Regions from separate parts of the Homo sapiens genome. Here region 2 is linked to region 1. The links are contacts of gene promoters, found by promoter capture Hi-C in blood cells and fetal thymus (Javierre and others, 2016). All regions are on one chromosome and are shown on one strand. Each heading gives the region's core, a stretch centred on a gene start or on the middle of the fragment in contact. The rest is flanking DNA. Distances are from core to core; before and after follow the strand shown.

Region 1 (2,915 bases), core at 84-2,583:
CAGAAGGGCCCAGGCGCTTGCAGGGCGCGAGTTCCCACCTCAAGCACCGTGGCGGCTCCCGCGCTGCGCACCTGGAAGTGCGCAGGCTGCTCCGCCGCCTCGTCGGCGCGCTGGTAGCTGAAGCAGGCTTCTGCTATGTCCAGGTGGCCGAGGGGCAGCGGGTCGTGGGGGTTCTTGAAGTAGCAGAGGCAGCAGCGGCGCCCGTCCAACACGAACCGACGGCTGCGGTAGCCACGCAGTCGCGCTGGTTCCCGCGCGGTACCCGCCCCGGGCTCTGCAGCCTCCCCATCGCCGTCGCTGCCCTCCTCTGCCCGGGTTCCGGCCCCGGTATGGCTGCCTGCGCGCCAACCGTTTGTTCCCCGGCCCCCGCGCCTTCGCGCTGCGGCTGCTGCGCTCCCTGCCCCCGCGGTGCCCCCTTCCCGCCGCCCCGCTCCTCTCTCAGGCGCTCAAAGTGGCCTGGAATTTGTAGAACGCCCCCCTCCAAGCCCGTTGGCAGTTGTCCTAGCCCGCTGGCCCTTGCCCCCGCCCGCTGGCCGTTGCCCCCGCGACGCCCCGGAAGCCAGGTCCTGCCTCCCGCACCTGCCAAGTCCCCGCCCTGCCGGAGTCTCGCTCTGTCGCCCAGGCTGGAGTGTAGTGGAGCCATCTCGGCTCACTGCAACCTCCGCCTCCCCGGTTCAAGCAATTCTCCCGCCTCAGCCTCCCGAGTACTTGGGATTACAGGCGCCCGCCACCTCGCCCGGCTACTTTTTGTATTTTTAATAGAGACGGGGTTTCGCCGTGTTGGTCAGGCTGGTCTCAAGCTCCTGACCTCAAGTGATCTGCTTGCCTTGGTCTCCTAAAGTGCTGGGATTACAGGCGTGAGCCACCGCGTCCGGCCCAAAAGCCTTTTTTGGATGAGAAAGACTCACTCAGCTTCGTCCTGAAGAGCAAGTGGGCTGGGGAAGAGGAGAGTATGAATGTGAGTCCAAGAGCAAGTTTTGCACTTTTTTCTTCAAAGAATGTCACCGTCTGAAGAATGCGATTGGAAGACACACACACACACACACACACACACACACACGCAGCCGGTTCTCTACAGGATTAGAAAAAACTTGCGCGAATTAATCTGCGTAGTTAAAAACAAATACGAAATGAGCGAGAAAGCACATAGTAGTCAAATCTCGCCACCACATAAACAGGTTAAGTTTGGAAGCACAGCCCCTAACATTCGGTGCTGCTTAGCATCTCCGACTTCCGGCGTCCTCCGTTGCTAAGGTGACCAGAGGCGCGTCCTAACGCTCCGCCCAACAAACCATAGAGTACCGGAAAAAGCTCGAGCAGAGGGGTCGGAAAGGGAAAACAACTACGGCTGCGGTGTGGTTGGTGGTGAGATGACGACCTTAGTGCTGGATAATGGAGCTTACAACGCCAAAATCGGTTACAGCCATGAAAATGTGTCGTAAGTACTTTCTTTCTCCGAGGGACAAGATATATACGCCTAGTGGTTTCATGTGCTACGTTTCATCTCCGGACATCAATGAACTGCAGACACCCCCGCGCGGCCCTGACTTAGCCAGAGGGATTCCCTGGTTGGAGCTGGGTGGGTGATTGTGATGCTTTGAATTGAAATTGATTTTGGTTTTAGTTTTGGGCTGCGAGGCCCCGGAAGTGGGATATATGTTTTATTTCGTAACAGGAAATAGCCAAAGAAAATAGGCTTATAGAGATGCGTTCCTGACAGAAGGGTCCGTAAAGTTCATCAGCCTTTGGAAACTATGGGCACGGTGTTTGGGTGTATGCGGATTTTCCTGGGTACAAGATTATAGGTTTCATTAGATTCTCAAAGGGTTCTATGACCCTCCAAAAGTCTAAAAATCACGGTCTTAGGATCTAGAGGCTTTGAAGACTTTGGCCTACTGGCCGACCTAGTTGGTAAGGTCAATTAAACAGAAGTACTGTTAATACAATGGCATTCATAACATGTATAGTCATAAAATATATGTTTGAATAAATAAGCAAACCTAAAGACACGCCTTTCCTTTATCAAATTAACAGAGCATTAAAAAAAATTCTTTCCTTCCTCCCTCCTTTCCTTCTTTTTCATTTCTTTTGAAACAGAAATGAAAGAGGGAAATCAAACTGAGTAGGAATGTAAATTGTTACAATCTTTCTGGAAAACGTTTTGGCAATGTGTATCATTATCATTGTCACCGAGGCTGGAGTGCCGTGGTGCGATCTCAGCTCACTGCAGCCTGAATTCAAGTGATTCTCCCGCCTCAGCCTCCAGAGTAGCTGGGATTATAGGCGTGCACCACCACTCCCAGCGAATTTTTTGTATTTTTGTTAGAGACGGGGTTTCATCATGTTGGCCAGGCCGGTCTCGAGCCCCTGGCCTCAAGCAGTCTACCCGCGTTGGCCTCCCAAAGTGCTGGTATTAGGGGCGTGAGCCCTACACCCAGCTGACAAAGCAATTTTTTTTTTTTTTTTTGGAGAGGGAGTCTGGCTCTCTTGTCCAGGCTGGAGTGCAGTGGCACGATCTCGGCTCGCTGCAACCTCTGCCTCCCGGGTTCAAGCCATTCTCATGCCTCAGCCTCCCAAGTAGCTGGGACTACAGTTGCGCACCACCACGCCTGGCTAAGTTTTGTATTTTTAGTAGAGACGGGGGTTTCACCATTTTGGCCATGCTGGTCTGGAATTCCTGACCTCGTGATCTGCCTGCTTCAGCCTCCTAAAGTGCTGGGATTACAGGTGTGAGCCACCGCACCGGGCCATGACACAGCAATTCTGTTATTACCTAGAGAATTAATTAGAAGTGCTTTGTATTATTCATAGTCATCGTATACAGGCAGCCAAAAAATGGGAAGGAAGCTAAATAATCAGGAATAGCATATTGGCTAAATACACCAAAATACAACCTGAGACTGATAACAAATTCA
Region 2 (3,237 bases), core at 488-2,987, 5.1 Mb before region 1:
ATCTGTTTCTTTATTTAATCTGTTAGACTATGTTGTTTTGGTTATAACAAGGCTGGGCACAGCACCTCACGCCTGTAATCCCAGCGCTTTGGAAGGCCAAGGCCAGTGAACTGCTTGAGCCCAGGAGCTCCAGACCAGCCTGGGCAACATGACAAAACCCTGTTGCTACAAAATATATAAAACATCAGCCAGGCACGTGAGCACAAAAAATGGCCACAAAAAATCAGCCGGAAACCTATTTCTTCACCATATATATACATATACATACATACATATATGTATATATGTTAAAGAAAATTCAGCTTCGTATTTATTGGTTGAAAAGGGGAAGGATATTTTAATACCCTTTTCAAACTGTGAAAGTTGTTCGACACTACATCAACTCAACAAGTGGCAGCTTTTCAAAGGTTAGCAGCAATGTAGAGTCATAAACTATATTAAAATCTGTTGGTCTATCCTGCAATTTAAATGGATCCTTCACTCATGCATAATTTTGTAACATTATACACTGGTCATCCGGAAAGCAATGATTCATTGAGTTATGTACACCTTATAAATGCTGACACATTTCATCATATAGTATCATCACATGTCACACAGTCTGTAGAAAATTCCATTGTATACCTGGGAGAGAACAATACTGAAAAGGCAAATAACATTTCAGTATTATTATAAAAATGGTCTTCACCTGGTTGATTCTCTGAAGTGTCCCCAGATAATACTTTGAGAACTTCCAAATTATGTGGTATCTCTTACTAAGTAATAGGACACAACCATTTAAAAAAATGAAGATGTCAGTATTGATGCTGAACTCCTACTGATCCCACCAAAACTAGGCTCAGATTGTACCCTCTAAAAAGAATTCCCTCAAAAGCATTCCTACTCACTCTACAGCTCTTTAATTTCTTTCCTTCCTTCCTTCCCTTCATTCCTTTCAATTTTCTTCTGTGCTCCCATTGCACCTGATACAATGACCTGTCACAGAACTTACCACATTCTACTATGAATTGTCTGATTATTCAACTATCTCTCAGTAGCTTGAAAAGCTATCTTAAGTTAGGGAATATCTTTTATTTCTGGAACTCCAGAACCTGGTATATGCATTTAGTAGGAATTAGAAAAGTTTGGTGGGCCAGTGCATCAACCGTAAACTAGACATACCTCTCCCATCTGTTGTTCAATAATTTGATGTGCAATTTCTTCTATGGTTGCCATGATCTACCTGCCAAAAATAAAAAGATGTTTTATAATTAAACTCACAAAACACTCTTATTAAATAATTTACAAATAAAACTATATGATATTTAAGATTTGCTTCAAAATAATCTAGTTAAGGTGGGAGGGTTGGCTTTTTCTGAAGTTTCTTTTTTCCATTCATGGGTTGCCTTTTCCATGTGTCTTTTTTATTTTTTTTTTTTTTAAAACAAGGCCCACCCAGGCTGGAGTGTAGGGGGCACCATCACGGCTCACTGCAGTCTCAACCTCCTGGGCTCAAGTGATCCTCCCACCTCAGCCTCCTGAGTAGCTGGAACTACAGGTATACACCACCACACCTGGCTAATTTTTTATTTTTTGTACAGATGGGGTCTCACTGTGTTGCCCAGGCTGGCCTCAAACTCCTGGGCTCAAGCAATCTTCCTGTCTCGACCTCCCAAGTGTTGGTATTGGAATTATCAGCATAAGCCACCATGCCCACCCCTCCATGTATCTTTTTTTTTTTTTTTTTTTTGAGATGGAGTCTTGCTCTGTCACCCAGGTTGGAGTGCAGTGGCATGATCTTGGCTCACTGCAAGCTCCACTTCCTGGGTTCATGCCATTCTCCTGCCTCAGCCTCCCAAGTAGCTGGGACTAGGCACCTGCCACCACGCCAGCTAATTTTTTTGTATTTTTAGTAGAGACAGGGTTTCACTGTGTTAGCCAGGATGGCCTTGATCTCCTGACCTCGTGATCTGCCTGCCTCGGCCTCCCAAAGTGCTGGGATTACAGGCGTGAGCCACTGCACCCGGCCCCAGCCCTCCATGTATCTTTATATGTTTATACGGTCTTCCCTCTGAGTGTCTGTGTCCTCTTCATAGAAGGACATCAGTTATTTTGGATTACGGTACACTCTAATGAACTAATTTTAACTCAATTATCTCTTTTAAGGCCTTATCTCCAATATACTCAATTCTGAGGTACTGGTGGTCAGGACATCACCATAGGAATTTGGGATTCATATGATTTTGTGGGAGAACCGAATTCAGCCCATAACACTCAGGCATAAACCCAATAAGGAACATGCAAGATCTAGGTAGGCAAATAAAACTTTAAAATGCTGCCTAAAGACAAGAAAATCTACACTTGGACCGGCCCCGGTGGCTCACATCTGTATTCCTAGCACTATGGGAGGCCAAGGTGGGCTGATTACCGGAGATCAGGAGTTTGAGACTAGCCTGGCCAACATGGTGAAACGCCATCTCTACTAAAAATACAAAATTAGCCAGGTGTGGTGGTACATGCCTGTAATCCCAGCTACTCAGGAGGCTGAGGCAGTAGAATTACTTGAACCTGGGAGGCGGAGGTTGCGGTGAGCCGAGATTGCACCATTGCACTCCAGTCTGGGCCACAAGAGTGAAATTCTGTCTCATAAAAAAAAAAAAAAAAATTAGCCAGGCATGGTGGCGGGTGCCCGTAATCCCAGCTACTCAGGAGACTGAGGCAGAAGAATCCCATAAACTTGGAAGGCAGAGGCTGTGGTGAGCCAAGATCGTGCCACTGCACTCCAGCCTGGGTGACAGAGAGAGACTCTGTCTCAAAAGAAAAAAAAAGAAAAAGAAAAACTACATCTTAAAAGGACACATAAGAAAGAAAATGGATCCAATAAGTACCTCCAAGGAAAGAAACTGCAAGTTTGGAAACAGGAATGGAAGGGAGACTTATTTTTCATTGAATAAGTGTTTGATGCTTTTAAATTTTGCTTAAATACAAGGATTACCACAAAAATTAAAGTAATAAACAAATAAGAAATCTCTTCCAGAAATCCTAAAATCAACACCAGTGTATTGGTGCATTAGACTCAAAGAAGTCACCTCCTAATGAAAACTTAGGGAGATAAACTATTTGTTTATCTGAATGAATTCCAGGGACTCATTAGATCAATATATAGTCATGTACTGCACAATGTTTTAGTCAATGAATGAGACTGCATATACAATAGCGGTACCACAAGTTTACACCCATAACACTGTATTTTTACTA

Evidence for each region. Contacts are between HindIII fragments. The CHiCAGO score rates a contact against its expected background, and 5 or more counts as called.
Region 2: a fragment that was not itself captured here is called in contact with the fragment with the promoter of ACTR6 in region 1 in 1 of 17 cell types (non-activated CD4 T cells); the score reaches 6.6 in non-activated CD4 T cells.

Annotation. Positions count from the first base shown.
Region 1 is chr12:100,199,482-100,202,396 of GRCh38, forward strand. It overlaps ACTR6 (actin related protein 6), which reads left to right and starts at 1,334. Exons shown (of 11, transcript NM_022496.5): 1 at 1,334-1,438. The coding sequence starts at 1,371. RefSeq lists a silencer at 278-637 and enhancers at 1,130-1,424, 1,398-1,597, 2,442-2,915. The HindIII fragment of the contact is 11,223 bases long and covers 1-2,915 here.
Region 2 is chr12:95,066,170-95,069,406 of GRCh38, forward strand. It overlaps NR2C1 (nuclear receptor subfamily 2 group C member 1), which reads right to left. Exons shown (of 14, transcript NM_003297.4): 2 at 1,162-1,222. The coding sequence starts at 1,215. Among named protein-coding and RNA genes, the nearest start is that of NR2C1, 5.8 kb to the right of the region's middle. The HindIII fragment of the contact is 9,664 bases long and covers 1-3,237 here.